Linked DNA regions of Homo sapiens: regions 1, 2, 4, 5 and 6 are each linked to region 3. Evidence: promoter capture Hi-C in 16 types of primary human blood cells and fetal thymus (Javierre and others, 2016). All regions are on one chromosome and are shown on one strand. Each heading gives the region's core, a stretch centred on a gene start or on the middle of the fragment in contact. The rest is flanking DNA. Distances are from core to core; before and after follow the strand shown. Region 1 has its middle 200 kb from the start of MIR548G. Region 2 has its middle 140 kb from the start of MIR548G. Region 3 holds the start of EDNRA (endothelin receptor type A). Region 4 has its middle 160 kb from the start of MIR548G. Region 5 has its middle 180 kb from the start of TTC29. Region 6 has its middle 120 kb from the start of MIR548G.

Region 1 (2,700 bases), core at 18-2,517, 330 kb before region 3:
GGTTGTCATGTCCCTTAATTGTCTAGTCCCTTCAACCTAGAACAGATTTGCAGTCTTTCCTTGACTTTCCTGACCTTGACACTGGAAACTCTGCAGACAAGTTACTTTGTAGCATGTCCCTCCGTTTGGCTTTGTTCAGTATTTATTTTTGATTAGATTCAGACTATGCCTTTTTGGCAAGAATATTTCAGAGGTGACAACATGTTCTCACTGAATTCTACCAGATTACAAGTCATTTTTATTAGTCCCATTACTGATGATGTTTACTTTGATTTCTTGATGGAAGTGATATCTGCAAAGCTTCTCCATTGCAAAATTCTTCCTTTCTCCTTAGGAATTAACAATTATTTTGGGGGAAATATTTTGAAACTATATAAATATCCTGCTTCTCTCCAAATTTTCTATTTATTCATAAATTTATTTATACCTAAATGAATTTCCTATTTCATTTAGTGGGTTATAACCCATTACTATCATTAATTTTATGCTCAAATTGTCCCAAGTTTGGCTACAAGAAGCCGATTTAAACTCATTTCTACTTCCTTTTGACATGTTCGCAATATCCTTTTAGCACATCCTTACTTTCTGGCACAAGATGTCCTGTTTCGTATTTTTCCTGTCCCATCCTTGAAATTAGCTATTTTCTCAAGGAGCCCTGGCTCTTTTGCATGGAAAATGGTATTTAAAAGCCAAGATGTGAGTGTTAGGTGTGTTCATTGCTACTGGAGTGTCACTGCTCCCACCTCTCTCAGTGGAGAAAGCTAGGAAATATATGTATGTAATACACATACAGATAACTTCCATATCCATACATTTATATCTTTAATTATCTATCTTTCTTTCTGTGTATCTACCTATTTATCCATCGTCATATCTATTATCTATCAGAGTCCATGAGTTCACATGGACATTACATATCCAATCCAACAACTGGGTTTATTCTAGTTTTCTCCCTTTCTGTATTTTTAACTCCCTTCTCCAAAAGTGAGAAATCTGTCTCAATTATTTTTATTTATTTATTAGTTTTTGAGATGGAGTCTCACTTTGTCACCCAGGCTGCAGTGCAGTGGCACGACCTCAACTCATTGCAACCTCCGCCTCCCGGGTTCAAGCAATTCTCCTGCCTCAGCCTCCAGAGTAGTTGGGATTACAGGAAATCACCACCACACCCAGCTAATTTGTTCTGTATTTTTAGTAGAGACGGGGTTTCACCATGTTGGCCAGGCTGGTCCCGAAGTCCTGACCTCGTGATCCGCCCGCCTCAGCCTCCCAACATGCTGGGATTACAGGCATGAGCCACCGTGCTCAGCCCCTCAATTATTTTTTATGTATTTACTTAATTGATCCATCCCACTGTATGTAATCTGCCATCAGTCCTCCCCTGCGAGGCTGCCTCCTCTTCTCTGCACAGCTATGATTCCACAATCTGAGCTGCCCTTGCTTCCACGTAGACAGTTCCTCTCCTGCTCAGACTCTGACAGCTCACATCACATCTCTGTGAGGCATTGCACCTGACCCTGCTTGGGTTATCTCCCACCAGGCCACCCCCAACAAGGACATTCTTCTCTCCCTGCTCGAGCTCTGACATCCCACCCCAGGCCACCTTCCTTGGAGTTTCTTTTCCTGTCCTTCTCCAGCTTCCCCTCCACGTGGACTCACTCCTCACCCTGCTCAGGGTTGATACTCTATGCCAACTTCCCTCTGCCCCTCTGCATGGACGTCTTCCTAACTCTGATCAGGCTCAATCTCCTCACCAGTCCACCCCTGCAGGGATGCCTTTCCCAGCCTGCATGGATTCTGACACTGGACACCCTGCTGTGGACCATCTTCAACCTGCTTAGGCTCTGGACCACTGCAGTCCATCTCCGACACACACATACCTCGGATGCTTGCCTTGCTCTGCCCCACTTCACGATTTAGGACCGAATTTTTCAGGAAGGAAAGAGAAGAGCTCTGAAAGACTTTTAACAGAAAATAAAGGGCTTCTAGGATGTCTACAGACTTGTAGTTTGTCATTTTCTAATCTTAATGTTTATAACTAATATTTTAGTATGAATTATTAATTTATCTGAGGTGAATAAAATTCACTGAGTTCATTGGTATCTCATAAGATGTAAAACTAGTTCTTCTGATATTCTGGAGAAATGTTTATTTTATCTGATATCTGTCTTCTATGAGCAGATGGAGTGAGCCATTCATATTTTTTTTTCATTTTGAAGAAGACCGAGGTCTGGAAAAGCTTCAAAAATTGCGGGTCTATAGCAATTGATTAATAATTAATAGTAAGCCATGTGACATTCTAGCATGTCACTTAGTAATCACCATAGTTTTAAGGAAAGCTTACTGCTTAGTGAATGTCTTTTTCTGTTTTTCACTTCTCTAAAATCTTTTAATGCACCTTATTGGGTTTTGGTGTAAATTATGAATAAGAAAGACATTTTTCTCAGTTTTTATGAGGTTAAAAAATTGATTTATAAAATGTTAACTTTAAGAATTCATTCTTTTCATTTGGTTCACTGTGTCAAGTTTGTTTGGAAATGCGACCTGTGTGTGCCTGTGTGTCATCACTTTGCATGCAAGTTTTCTCCGGCCTCATTTCAATACATGTTGTGTTAAACTACTTACTAGTGTTTTTACATTTGTAGTTTTACATTTGATCCTATATTTATTCTGATTATCTAAAACATTTCAAAAAATAAA
Region 2 (2,700 bases), core at 114-2,613, 280 kb before region 3:
AAGTTTTTCTAATATTGAAGATAGATGAGAACTGCACATCTCTTTGTTACCCTGATAATTAAGGGGAAAGTCAGCACCTGTCAGCCAAAAACAATCAAGCTGAAGGCAGGAATGTTCTTGCAAATAGCCAGAGCATTCCAAAGAATTCCAGAAATGCTCTCACATTCTCTATCACATTCCTTTAAGCACAGATTAATTTAAACAAACAGCCTAATCACGCCATATCAGAAACGTACACACAGGAAACAAAGGCCAAAAACTAAGTCTCAATGAAAAATAGCCATCTTGTAAGGAAATAAGCACATCATTCTTATGCCAGAAGACATGGTTTCAAATATATTTCTGCAGAAGCCAGTCTCTTCATGTCGAGGCTCAGTAGGAGCATCACCAGGCTGTGCTACTTCACACTCCTTAGCAGGGAACATCATCTTAGACAATTGTCCCTGAAGCATAGCTTGATCCTTTCCAGACTTAATAGAGTGGACTGCTTGTTTAATGGTAAAATGTGTGCATTCTGAAGAAGGGACATCAACCTCCTCAATTTAATTAGAGAACCGTTATAAAGAAGTGAACCATGTTATGCTTTAGCCCAGTAGGCTATTAACCCTGAAAAACTGGGAAGGAGCAGATGATACATCTATAATATCTTCTCACAGTAAGCCTGCCTCTTGGTTTTTGTGACTGAAGATTCTGAGATGGTCAATATTTGCAGGATGGTCTGACAAATGCGGCTGTAATAGCAACAATCTGTGAGTATGGGCTAGTCTGGTTTTATTTGTAGTTTGTTGGTACTTCAGTGGGTCCATAACTTAGAACATGAAATATGTATTAATTTCTTAGGCATGTAACAATTATTTCTCCAGAGCACAAAAACACAAGGATTTATGCACCAAAAGTGTTTGTAGTCAGACCTGACTCCCTGCTGGCCACAATCATATAAGAATGTACAAATGTGGAACACTTCTGAATTTATTCATTTCTTAGCTTTCTTCTAATTACTAATTTCACTTAATGAACTGTGCCAGAAGATCATAACTACCCTGACCAACAGTTTTTAATAAGACAAACAATAAGCCATGAAGAGAGAAGGGCCAAATTACTTATCGAAGAAGGATTTACATGAAATGAGGGCTGAATTGTTTAACTGGAAGGGCCACATCTACAGGTCTCCTTACATGAGACCATAATGAAAACCAACAGATGTGAGAGCACAGGATACAGTCCTGAGCAGCCCTTCAGCCACACCTGCATATTTAGCTACAACTTCTGAAGACAAGAAGCACTGGTGGACTTAATGGCTTCTTATTACCAAAGCAAACAATTAAATCTGGCCCTCTGAGAACAAGGGATCGTAGAACATCTTTAGGGAAAATGTTAAGTGTACTTTTTGTGGCCCATCAGAGGATCATTACATAGTGGCACTGAATTAAGCCTTGACTTAAGGTAACATGAGTATGGGAGAGAAAAAATTGCATTTAAGAATGTTTCATTTAATGGGAGGCTCGGAGAAAATGTAGTTGATAATGGATGTCATTTGCTCGCCTCCAGCCACACACACCTTTATCCTTTGTTGCCCCCCATCTCAATGTTAAAAAAGAAGTCCCCCAAAATGTTTTATTAAGGGAATTGTTAAGGGTTTCTACAATTTCCACAGCCACCTTATTCAGGACTCCACTGCACCAATCATGTGTGAATGAAGGGTAGTATTTGTGTTAGCAGATAGCTGGGACACCTGACAGTCTGCCTTTATCCTCTCAGCTGGTTCTGGTGTCTCTCTCAGATTTGGGATATACCAACAGTCCACAGGATTTCATATGTATCTGACTAGAAAAAGTTAGATATGATCATATTAACACTTAAAGCAGTGTTTCCCAAGTAATGGCTCTCAGAGAAAATGATAGTATGTATTTATACTCAGCAGTAATCAGACAAGTCAGTGTGTCTAGAAGTAACTAGCTGGGGAAGGAGAGGAAAGTGAAAGTAGTGATGGGGAGGAGGGGGCTCCAGGCACTCTAAGTCATGCTCTGCCAGCCTGGGCTTCATGGATCAATATCGACCTACACCCAAGAACCCAGAACAGCATCCGCCAGAGAAACACTCCCTTAATGGATACGGATGGTTCAAGCATTTCCTTGGGAAAATAAGTAAGATTCTAAGGTCCTCCGTGGTATCATGAGCCTTTATGTGATGAAATAGGGATTATGAGTCAATATTATTTAGTCTCATAAAGAGAAAGGGACACAGGATAGGTGCTCCAATAATCTTCGCTATTGCATTCATGTTTTAAATACCAACCAATACAAGAACCTCAGAATGCAAAATTGAGCTATACTACGCATTCGCAAATCAGATACAAACTTATTTACCCTCAACCTGAAAGAAGTCAGGGTGAACCTAACATTTAAAAGAAATGTATTAAATCTTTACAATTCTTTTCTTCTTTTTCTTGTTTCATTTTTTTTCATTGTCGTCCGTGATGTAGGGAAAAAACAGAAGGTATTTAAAGTGAGTAAATATTCTGTGAATTTTCTTAGTCTAATCCTCTTTAAAAATGTAAAAAGTAGTTGACTATGACAGTGTGGTAGAGACAGCAAGAATTAGCCCAAGATTGGATGATTTCCACAAAGAACTTGCAAGCTGGGATACATATACAACCACTTTCTGAGATGCTTTCTCTGGTAGTTCAGATACTCTGACCTC
Region 3 (2,700 bases), core at 32-2,531:
AGGGTTGGGCTCTATATACCCTCACCTTCAATCTGGGATTTGTGACTGCTTGACTAATAGAATCAAGCAGAAATGACACGGTGCCAGTTTCTGGGCCCAGCCCTTAAGAAACTGGCAGCTTCCACTTTCTGTCTCTGGGGACATTCACTCTTGGATCCCCGCCACCATGCTGTGAGGAAGCCCAAACCACAAGTCTCCACAAGTCTTTGTGGAGAGACGCACGTGGAGAAAAACTAACACTCAACACCAAGCAAGTGAACTGTCTTGGAAGTGGATCCTCCAGCCCCTGCTACATGGAGCAAAAACGAGCTGTCCCAGACAGGCTCTGCCCAAACTGCAGACTGATAAGCAGAGTAAATGAGTGTTGTTATTTTAAGCCACTACGTTTTATAGTAATTTGTTTAGCTGCAGCAGATAGCCGGAACAGCATGGGATATAACATGACCAGTGCTCCAACCTCACACTTCTACCATGTGCTGACTCTAGCAGTGCACTGAAGGACTCCAAGGCAGGCCTTCCCTGAGGAGACCCCAGTTTTTACTCACATGTCACAGGCAGTGGCCTTTGTCCCTCATCTCCTCTCCCACCCCCAATTTAGGATAAAGTATCTGCCGTGATAAAGACGTTGAGACCCACTTTCTGTAAGGTCGGCTTCTTCATTGTTTGAATTTCTTGAGGTTTCACGGAGCCACGCGCTGGAACCTTCCATAGTCTCTCCTGAGGCTCCTTCTTTGCCCTGGGCTGGAGGTCTGTAGCCGTGGGATGCTGGCTACAAGGGACAAGATAGAAGCAAACCACCTGATCCAGTAAACTGCTGTCCACTTCGGCTCCTCAACGGCCTCTAAGCTTAAGAGGGAGCACGCAAGCCAAGCAAAGGCGGCAGGGAAGACGGAGAAGAAACCACCCGTGGGCCCTGGCTCTGTGTCCAGTTGTTCCGTCACAGATCAAATCTGCCTGCACTAAGAGGATGGGTTCCTCTGCAAGGCCTTTCGGAATTCTGAGTCTTGTCTGTCAAACTCTACCCTCTCTCCTCCACATCCCCCACCTTTTCTTTCAGGAAGGAAATAGTTAAAAAAGACTCCTGCCCTTCAGGGCCTGGAAGGGGGCGGCAGCTTTGTGCTTTTTAGTGGCCGCGTCCCAGGATAGCTGGAAGGTTAGGACGCTCTTGCGGTCCCAGAGTGGAGTGGAAGGTCTGGAGCTTTGGGAGGAGACGGGGAGGACAGACTGGAGGCGTGTTCCTCCGGAGTTTTCTTTTTCGTGCGAGCCCTCGCGCGCGCGTACAGTCATCCCGCTGGTCTGACGATTGTGGAGAGGCGGTGGAGAGGCTTCATCCATCCCACCCGGTCGTCGCCGGGGATTGGGGTCCCAGCGAGACCTCCCCGGGAGAAGCAGTGCCCAGGAGGTTTTCTGAAGCCGGGGAAGCTGTGCAGCCGAAGCCGCCGCCGCGCCGGAGCCCGGGACACCGGCCACCCTCCGCGCCACCCACCCTCGCCGGCTCCGGCTTCCTCTGGCCCAGGCGCCGCGCGGACCCGGCAGCTGTCTGCGCACGCCGAGCTCCACGGTCGGTGCAAGTCTTTCTTATCGGGGACTGGGACTGGGGCGGGTGCGGGGATGGCGGAGACGCTGCCTGGGCCCCTCGGTCGGGAGAAGACGAGAGCTGGGAACGTTCTGGCCCGACCGCCCTGCAGCTTGGGCGACCCGTCGCAGCAGGGGCTGGCACCCACTTGCCCCAGGGCGCGCGGGGAGGCGGGCGCCTTCCGTGAGGGGTGCGCTGCGGACACGTGTAGAGTTCGGGGAACTTCACCTCTCCACGTTAGGGTTTAGGATTCGGAGTTTTAGGAAGAGGAAGCCCAATAGTTTTCCCTGGGTGACCCCTTTTCCCCAGGCATGCAAGAACTTTGAGGAACGCCAAGCTCTGTGGCTTGCTCCAGCGCCTTCTTGTGAAGTTGGCTCCACAGCCTTTTCTTACTGGCTTGCTTTTCCTCCCCCACATCTGGGTCTGGGTATGCCAAGGGTAGCCAAGGGCACTCGGTGTGAGGGACTGAGGTGTTTGGGGAAACCCCCTGTGTAGCTAGTTTTGGAAACCTGCCTGTGGAGGTCTGGGCGTTTTGTTCTGTGCTCGCCTTTAAAGGACACTTGTTGCTTCTCACGTGCAGAAAACAAGGGCTGCTTCTAGATAATCACCCTCTGTTTACATCATCCTAATGGCTTTCCCCTGATAGAGTTGGGGGTGGGAGGCATATTAAACTCAGGCGTTGTCTCTAAGGAGAGTTGCTCATTTCTTAACCAGAGAGCAAAACCTCAGAAAACTTGTAAAAAGTTCCTACTTTTACTTGTTTTTTCCTCCACCTGTAGTTGTCTATGTGTTAGCTAATTGAGAAACACCTTGGCAGTCATTTCATGTAAATTGAATGCTCTAAACTCATGCCATTTTGATAAGGTCTGAATTTCCAAATTACCAATTACAGGTGAACTTTGATCCTGAGAGTCTCATATGTTAAATGGTTAAAGTGTAAGCGTAAGGATTCAGTCCTCTTTCTTAATAATAGTTTTTGCACTCCCCAAACTCTCAGATTCCAAACAGGAAGAATGCTGAATCTATAGACCATGTCCTTCAGGTCTGAACCTGAGATGCTTCACTAGCGCTATGACTGATTATGAGTGATGATTCAAAGCACAGCCTGACTCAGATTCCTGGAA
Region 4 (2,700 bases), core at 7-2,506, 300 kb before region 3:
ACATCAATGTATGTTAAAAGTAAAGTATATGAAAAATCACTCTTCTGGGTCAAGTAGGAATGACACGCTACTCAGATAATTGAAGTGGAATGTGGTCAAAACTATATTCAGAGGAAAAGTTGTATTTTTACAAGCTTTTATTATTAAATAAGAAAGAATGGAAACAATGAAAGTAAATATTTAATTCTAGAATCTAAAGGGAAAAATCAATGAAAATTTTAAGGAAAGCAAGAAATGAAAGAGCAAAAAGGTAAACACAGAGGTTAGTGAAACATCTAAAATTTTCAAAAAGCTAAGAGATAAAGCACCAGTGTAAAATCTTAGGAATGCAAATTTATTTACAAAATATTTAAAATGTAAACAGAATGTTACGTACAACTTGATGGTAAAACGATGAGAAATGTATACAAAATTGATTAATTTATAGGAAAACACAAACAAAACTAGCTTAAGAAGTCAAATAAAATGAGTAATAATATATGATTATCAATCTAATTATTGTAGAAACTGAGATTTGTATTTAGAACATTCTCAAAATAAAGTTAAACTCCTCAGTCTCACCAATTTTTCATTTCTAGGCAATCACCAAATTGTACTGACTCTACTTTCTGGATCTCTTTCTAACACGCCCCCTTCCCTCTACCCTGCTGTCAACACCACTGCTTTATTTCAGGGTCTCATTACTTGCTTAAGTACAGAGTTCCTATTTCTCCAAACCCAGCACCTAGCAAACGGCCTGGAATTGTAGAGGGAGTGGAAAAAGTTTGTTGAAAGTTTAAAGAAACACAATGAAGCTGTTATAAACCAATCATAAAATATAGGTAAAATTATGGTAGTCCTCTGGTATGGTGAATTTAATTGACAAATGCATACCACTTTTGAAATTCTCTGCCCAGAGATAACAAAGAAAGATAATAGTGTGTCCATCTCACTGTGAGTCAAAGAATCTTCACAACGCATGAAACAAAAAGGATGGGGTGGGACGTGCTCTAAGGAGGTAGCAGCGTACATAATGTTCTCATTTCCCTAGCTAAACTATATGTACTTTGAGGTAACAGACTTTGCCTTTTGTTTCTTCCATAACCACCCATGCCTTAACTACAGATGGTATACATAAAAAAGTATAAGCTCTTCTAAATGTGTTTTAGATTACGTCTCCTCTATCCTACTTAAAGTGATTAGCCATTTTTCCTCTCTATAACATCATCAAAATTTTGATGATGGGATTATTTTCATCAAGATACTATTATGTAATTTTTCTAAACACACACATATATATATACACATGCACACCACTTTCTCTTGCCCCTTATTCCACTTTCCTACTAACAACTATCTTAAATCTTTGCCTTAAAACTCCTTGAGAGTCCTGTTTACTTTCTGTTTCCAATTCTTCCCCTTTCATTTCCCCCAAGGCACATCTAGCAGGCACAAAGCGCTTTCCCTGTGGTGACCTATGACCTCCATGGTGCTAGATCTAATGGTAAATTCTTTGTCTGAATTTTAGAGTGACTAATCAGCAGCCTTTGACACAGTTGAGCACCCCCTCTCTTAGCTTCCAAGACAACACCCCTTTGCTTTTCCTCCTGCCTTACTAGATCTTCCTTCTCAGTCTCCTTTCTTTTCTCCGTGTTTCATAATGGTGGATTGGTACAGGGCACACACACCTCTCCTTTACTTATGCTAACTCTGGTGATCTCATCCAATCTCACAGCTTTAAACACATGTTAGAATCCTAAATTTGCTTCTTCAGCACAGGTTTCTCTCTTCAACTCCAGATTTATACACAAAATTACCTACTTCACATTTCCTCTTGGATTTCTAGTAGACACATCAAATTCACCATAAACAAAAATGAACTCCTAGCCTTTCCCATCAAACACACTTTATTATAGCCTTCCTCCCCTCAGTTGAGGGCAATCTCTTCCTGACAGTTACTCAGGCCAAAAACTTGGATTATTTCTTAATTATCGTAATCACACTCTCCACAACTATTCTATTTTCAAATCCTGTGGACTCTCCTTCCAACACCTATCCAAAATCAGACAATTTGTGCCATCTCTACAGCTCACCAACCTAGTTTAAGCCATCATGGTCTTTCACATAGATTACTGCAACATTCTCTGACCAGATCTCCCTTCCTCACCCTTCCAGTCTACTCTCAACATAGCATCTGGAGTGGTCATCTCTCAGGATGCTTTATGGCTTCCCTTTCACTCAGTAAAATCCAAAGCCCTAAAATAGCCTCAAGGCCCCTCAGAATCTGCCTAGCCCCATTATCCCTGTGACCTCAAGACTATTACTTTCCCCTTTGCTTAGTCCTCATTCATCAGAAATGTGTCACTTGACCACCACTTGCTTCCAGGGAGTCTGAGAAATCAAGCTTATTAGCTGGGTACATTGCCACCCCAACAAAATAGGGAGAAGGAGAGGAATAAGTATTATCAAGGCAACTGGCAGTGACTGTCACACACCCATGATTATCTTATTTTGCAAGAAGGGAAGCAAAGTCTCAGGTAAGTTAGGTTACTTTCCACGAGAGTTTCCTAGACAGTAACTTAGTTAGAAAATGGAGAACTGAAATTCAAATCCAAGTTTGTCTGACTACACATCCCTTTATTTTTCTATTACGTCAAGCACCCTCCCTCCTTTAATAGAAAATTACCAGCCTTTGAATGATTTTGAGCACAGGATTTGTTC
Region 5 (2,700 bases), core at 55-2,554, 350 kb before region 3:
CCTAGGACATTTCACGGTGTCTTTCAGCATAGCAATAAAGTTAAACAACTCCCTAAACATGTGTGTTATGAATAGGGCCTTTTGCTAAGTAAAGATGATTTGTTTCTAATACTAAACCCAGTATCTCACTTTCTGGAAAGATAACTGAACCAAACAGCTATTGGTTGGTTAGAATTAACTTTAAATTATTTTCAAAATGTCAAAAAAGGAATTACTTTTTTCTTCTTGCCTGTTATTTTTCCAGTTCTTTTTAAAACAAAGTGTTCATTTTGGGGCATGACAGCTAAAATAGAAATGTCTTTGGCATAAACTCAGCTCTCCTAGCCTGCAGGCAAAATATAAAATTGTTAAATTGGAGAGGACCAGAAAGCGGATGATAAAATTTGTCCATGGAACTTCTGTTAATAACAAACATTTGTCCCATGACATGTACTATAAGTAATAACACATGACAGGGGATGGATTTGTCACTGTCCTGAACAGCAGGTTTTGGTGCCTGTAAGACAACAGGCCAAGTTCACCTAGCCCTTCAGCTGTGGCTTCCTATGAATCTGTTGGGGTTTTCATTAAACGTCCTTTTTTAAACTTGGAAAGACTTGGGAAGACAATTCTCAGATGTGTGGGTCTAGGTTGGTCTGCCTTTAGAATTTTAGAGGCAGCTTGGTTTGTTGTGTCTGGTTCTATTTTCTACCGCAGCAGCATTTGCTGTTTCCTAAGAGTCATGCCATTTAAGCATTTTGCCTCCATTTCTTCTTCACTCAGTAGTCAGAAAGAGAGAGGAGGCGATTCTGAAAAAGGCAGATAGACAGTAGCAGAAGCGACCATGTTGATAGTTAGTAGAGGCAGCAAGGCCTTCCCATTTTCTGGCTTTGTTTCATCATATTTATTGAATCTAAGACATCATGGATGGTGAAATGCACCATTATTTTATGCACTGACCAAAACTCTTCTTGACCAAACTTCAGTCAGGTTCCTCTGAGCCCTCTTCCTAAGGTCTCAGCCTTCCTTCCATCTTTGCTGGACCTGCATAGCCCAGTTGTAGCAAGAATCCTATTAAGTTAGTTTATCAAAACTTCCCCTACTCTTGATGTGTCCTCTTAGTCATTTTTCATCCACTGAACCCCCCTCCCGCCCCCGCTACCCTGTTCCTTAGCTATACCTCCCCACTTGTCCTTGCTGTATTCAGAATTGAGCTCAGTCCTATACTGAGGTTTCTTTTCCCATATTGCAATCGCTCCTGAATAAAACGTGTTCCAATTGCTTTAAATACTGTCTGGCTCAGGTTCTTTTTAATGGTACCAATACAGAAAAGAGGATACATTTCCAATCAATCCCAGATGCAACACCTTAATGATAGTCCTCTGTGAAGCCTGGGTGGGCCACACAGCCTTTGTCCGGACATTTCTTTTTATCTATTACAAACTATTTGGCATTTTCTCTTGCCTTTGGTTGCACTGCTTGGCCTGTAATAAGAATTCTTTTGCACTTATCTCAGTAACAAAATGTAACAAAGCCTCATAGACCTGTAAGATTTCCCCTTCTTAGGTCTCCTAAAGCACCTGGATCCTCTTTCCAAGAAAAGAAGGAAATGCAGTCATTACTCCTACAAGGAACTTTTGCTTCACTAATATCAAAGTCATGGCAAGTTGCTGTTTCCCTGTCTTTCTGCATATTAAAGTCACTTTTTGTGTCAATACTGAGTAATGGCATAATCTTATTGAAGATGTTTTAAATAGTAACTTAAAACCAATGCCTTTGTTGGTGTTGCACCTTTCCAACACTAGACATAAAATCAATTGATATAACAACATAAACAGTTATGACCAAGTTTGCAGGCAGCAACCATTTAACTCCCCATGGCTGCGGCCCAGTGACAGCAAATCTAAGATGCCTCCCAATTTTAGAGATGCTAAAATATGAGAAAAATGTTTATGACAGAATTAGTGCCACACCGTGTTATCCATTTACACATTGTACAGGAGCGGTAAACTCAAATGCTCACAAGGCCAATTAAATCAGGTATTTAGCCCGACTCTATGTAAGAAACATGTACCCTCTACACCAAATATTTATTTCACTTTTAGCAGAAGCATGGCTTCAAAGGAATATTGAATACTATAAAAAAGCACCAGGCCCCTGTGGTGGCTTCACAATAGGGAACTAGAGAAAACTGAGGAATGCATGTCTCATCTAACGGAACCAGATACCGCACAGCTCAGATCAAACATTATCATGTCAGTCATCCTTAAGACTTTGGAGGCAGTATTGCCCAGTCTTCTGATTTTTGAAGAGAAATAGGAAATCTGAATTTTTAGGTGAAATCCCTTAAAAATTCATTCAAAAATTTTAAAATGCCAGACACCCCTCACAAAGCAAATCTACATCACACATTTGGTTCTTCGTTCACCAATTTGTGGCCTATGCAAAATACACCTAACGTGCATGGGTCACCCATGTTCTAAACATCACCATTTATCCCACGGGTACATTTAATCCAAAAACTATCAGCATGACTTGAAAGGTAATCATATCATGGTAACAACTTTGCCCATGAAGCATGAGGGCATAATAGGTGCCAGTAGAAATACTCCATCAGAAGAGTCATTTGTAGTCCATTTTAGATATGTTTCTTCTGTCTACATGAAATAGAACCAATTCACTAGAAGGATTTCAAGGCTTGGAACTGAGAAACAGCAATTT
Region 6 (2,700 bases), core at 58-2,557, 260 kb before region 3:
TATGTATGAATTTCATAATTTGTGCATAAAGAGGTAACTTCATCTCTTAGGTGGTATTACGTTAAACTGTACCCCACATGAAGAGTTTGCTCTAAGCCAGAGACCTTAGAAATTAAACTTGCTTAATGTCAAATAAATTTTTACACACTGCAAGTATGATAAACTATTTTGGATTAATGGGTTCTTTCCTAAAACCCAAAACAGATTAAAGACTTCCTTACTCCGGAATAGGATCAAACCAGAAGAAGGTTTTAAATGCAGAGGAGTTTGGAAAGAGGGCCCTGATCTTTTTCATCCAATAGAATAAACATGCTTAAATCTATGACTGTGTAGACTGTATTTATTACAGAATTTAGGACAGTAGTCGATCCACTGAAACTCTGTTCTCAGTAGCAACCATTCCATTTCCTCAACCCTACTTAAGCTTCAATTCAGAGTCAACCAATTATTTTTCTCTTTCTTTCAACCAAACTTCACATGCTTTGACGGCAGTCCAAGGAATACTTGAAGGATAGGTGTGGTAGTTTGCTTCCATTGAAATAAAATCTATTCATTTTTTCCTACTAGTTTAGCTTGTAAGTAGTTTACAAAAATTATATACATAAATGTACTCTAATTGATCAAAAGACTAATATTGACTCAGTTCATATTAGTATTGCCACTGCCTCTTTCTATTTGTTCTCTACTAATAGACAGAGAAAATGCAAGTTTTAGCTGGCAGTAAACGTAATCCAATCAATCACCCTTAAAACAGATTCCAGTAAAGAAAATAAATACTGATACTAAAAAGTAAAAAAGGGTATATTACATTATTTCATAAGACCCATTGTATGATTGGTTTCTGGACACTGTTTAATTTAATGGAAGAAACTAGCATTGAAACACACCAACATATTTTCCATTTTCAAATAAAAAGTTTTGACCTGAGTTTTGTTAGATGGCTGCCTTGAAATATTTGAATTATTGAAAATAGGCTTGACATAGTATTCCATGAAGTATGCATGCTTTTACAAGTTTGAATGCATTTATTTATAGGTTAACATTTTTAAAAGTTTGTGTGCTATAATGCATCTATCTCTAAATATTTATGAATGTACTTCCCCATTAAGTCAGGAGACAGGAATGGAAAAACTAAGAAACATTCTCCATAGAGTGGATATATTCAAATGTCAATTTTTTAAAAGGAATGAATCCAATATGCTAATTTTAAATGCATTTCAAGGGTCTTTCGGCCTAAAATCAACACTTCCAATTAAAGGAAACTTCCAACATTAACTACCTTATGAGTCATACCAGAGGTTATAGTCTGTTAGGAAATAGGCCAATATAAAGAAAGAAGAACTAGAAGGAAGTGCAAGGTTTTTATGATTCTTGGTAAGGCTGATTTAGGCAGATTCTGAGATCTGCTGTCTAATTATTTAGTCTTCTTGTACTTTTAACTGGATTAGGGGAAAGGATCCTTAGTTTCTTCACAAAAAGAAAAAAACTTTTCTCTTAGTTGTTTGATTGGAAAATTATCAAAGACATCAAAGAAAAAGTAGTTCGAACAGAGAAGAAGGACTTTTCATGATATTCTATGTGAAAAGTGAGAACAAAAAAATCTGGTCCGAATGATAAAACATTCCCTTCCATAACCAGCCTCCAGATTTTCTCTTGTTTGAATATTTGTGACATTTTGACTTAGAAAATATACTTTCCTTAAGAGCTGGTGGACATTCCCAAAGAAACATGATCTTCTAACACCTTTTTCTACCATTTTCTGTTTTAATAATTAAGGAGTAGAAGACCAACACAGTAAACAATGTCAAAATAGTCTTTATATTCCCAGAAACACAGAAGGGGGCAGAGATGAAAAATTCCCAAAGAAATATTAGATGAGGAATATTTTGCATCTCCAATGTCTGTAATTTCTGTTTATACTGTGACACAAATAAATACATCTAGTTGGTGTGATGGTAAGGTGGTTAACTTTCATATATCTTGAAGTTCATTTTTAAAATTTCTGCTTTTAATTTTAAAGTTATGGGACTATATTTAGTTTTTTATTTAGTTATAATTCACTTTCAAATAAATCCAACCCTTGAGAACTTCATCTAAAGAGTTTATCATATTCACAATAAAATACCAATTTCTTCTTTTTGTCTTTCCAGTTCTCAAAAGATGTACATATAATAGTTTCTCTTAAAAGAAAAAGCTTTACATAAATAAGTTCTTGTTTTATTTTAAAATTAACATAAAAATAATATCCCATAAGCATGTCACCTAATATAAGCATTATCCTATTTTTGTATATTCCCTTCACTGTTCTTGTATATTCTCTTTAAATAAACATTACTTTATATGTTTTTCATATTGCAATTATCACATACATCAAATATTGTACCCTCTTTTTCCTATATAACATTAAATAAAATTGCCTTTTCACATGTGTAATTTTTATTAGAAGCACAATATTCTATTAATTTAATTAAACTTTTAAGTATTCTATTTATTATTTCTTAAGTAAATCTTTACTTAAATAAAATGCTTATCTTTTTAACTTCTTCATGTATTTCTGGATCCTTTCCAGATTGAGTAGTGTGATCCAGGACTACTGCAGCAAAAAAATGTGTGGACATCTTCTAGATCAGTTACTCCAGTACCTTGATCTCTGTATGTTTCTCTAGTATTCTCTCAGATAGTTTCATGTAATGTGGGTAG

What was found. The method cuts DNA at HindIII sites, captures the fragments that hold promoters and counts their contacts. A CHiCAGO score of 5 or more calls a contact.
Region 1: a contact is called between a fragment that was not itself captured here and the fragment with the promoter of EDNRA in region 3, in 1 of 17 cell types (endothelial precursors). The highest score is 6.8, in endothelial precursors.
Region 2: a fragment that was not itself captured here is called in contact with the fragment with the promoter of EDNRA in region 3 in 1 of 17 cell types (endothelial precursors); the score reaches 6.6 in endothelial precursors.
Region 4: a fragment that was not itself captured here is called in contact with the fragment with the promoter of EDNRA in region 3 in 1 of 17 cell types (endothelial precursors); the score reaches 6.6 in endothelial precursors.
Region 5: a contact is called between a fragment that was not itself captured here and the fragment with the promoter of EDNRA in region 3, in 1 of 17 cell types (endothelial precursors). The highest score is 5.1, in endothelial precursors.
Region 6: a contact is called between a fragment that was not itself captured here and the fragment with the promoter of EDNRA in region 3, in 1 of 17 cell types (endothelial precursors). The highest score is 5.1, in endothelial precursors.

The regions. Positions count from the first base shown.
Region 1 is chr4:147,147,547-147,150,246 of GRCh38, forward strand. No RefSeq gene overlaps it. Among named protein-coding and RNA genes, the nearest start is that of MIR548G, 200 kb to the right of the region's middle. The HindIII fragment of the contact is 1,939 bases long and covers 299-2,237 here.
Region 2 is chr4:147,198,458-147,201,157 of GRCh38, forward strand. No RefSeq gene overlaps it. Among named protein-coding and RNA genes, the nearest start is that of MIR548G, 140 kb to the right of the region's middle. The HindIII fragment of the contact is 3,290 bases long and covers 1-2,700 here.
Region 3 is chr4:147,479,816-147,482,515 of GRCh38, forward strand. EDNRA (endothelin receptor type A) reads left to right here and starts at 1,282. Exons shown (of 8, transcript NM_001957.4): 1 at 1,282-1,561. RefSeq lists enhancers at 1,972-2,071, 2,102-2,181. The HindIII fragment of the contact is 2,424 bases long and covers 845-2,700 here.
Region 4 is chr4:147,180,777-147,183,476 of GRCh38, forward strand. No RefSeq gene overlaps it. Among named protein-coding and RNA genes, the nearest start is that of MIR548G, 160 kb to the right of the region's middle. The HindIII fragment of the contact is 2,249 bases long and covers 133-2,381 here.
Region 5 is chr4:147,129,493-147,132,192 of GRCh38, forward strand. No RefSeq gene overlaps it. Among named protein-coding and RNA genes, the nearest start is that of TTC29, 180 kb to the left of the region's middle. The HindIII fragment of the contact is 3,525 bases long and covers 1-2,700 here.
Region 6 is chr4:147,219,753-147,222,452 of GRCh38, forward strand. No RefSeq gene overlaps it. Among named protein-coding and RNA genes, the nearest start is that of MIR548G, 120 kb to the right of the region's middle. The HindIII fragment of the contact is 1,770 bases long and covers 423-2,192 here.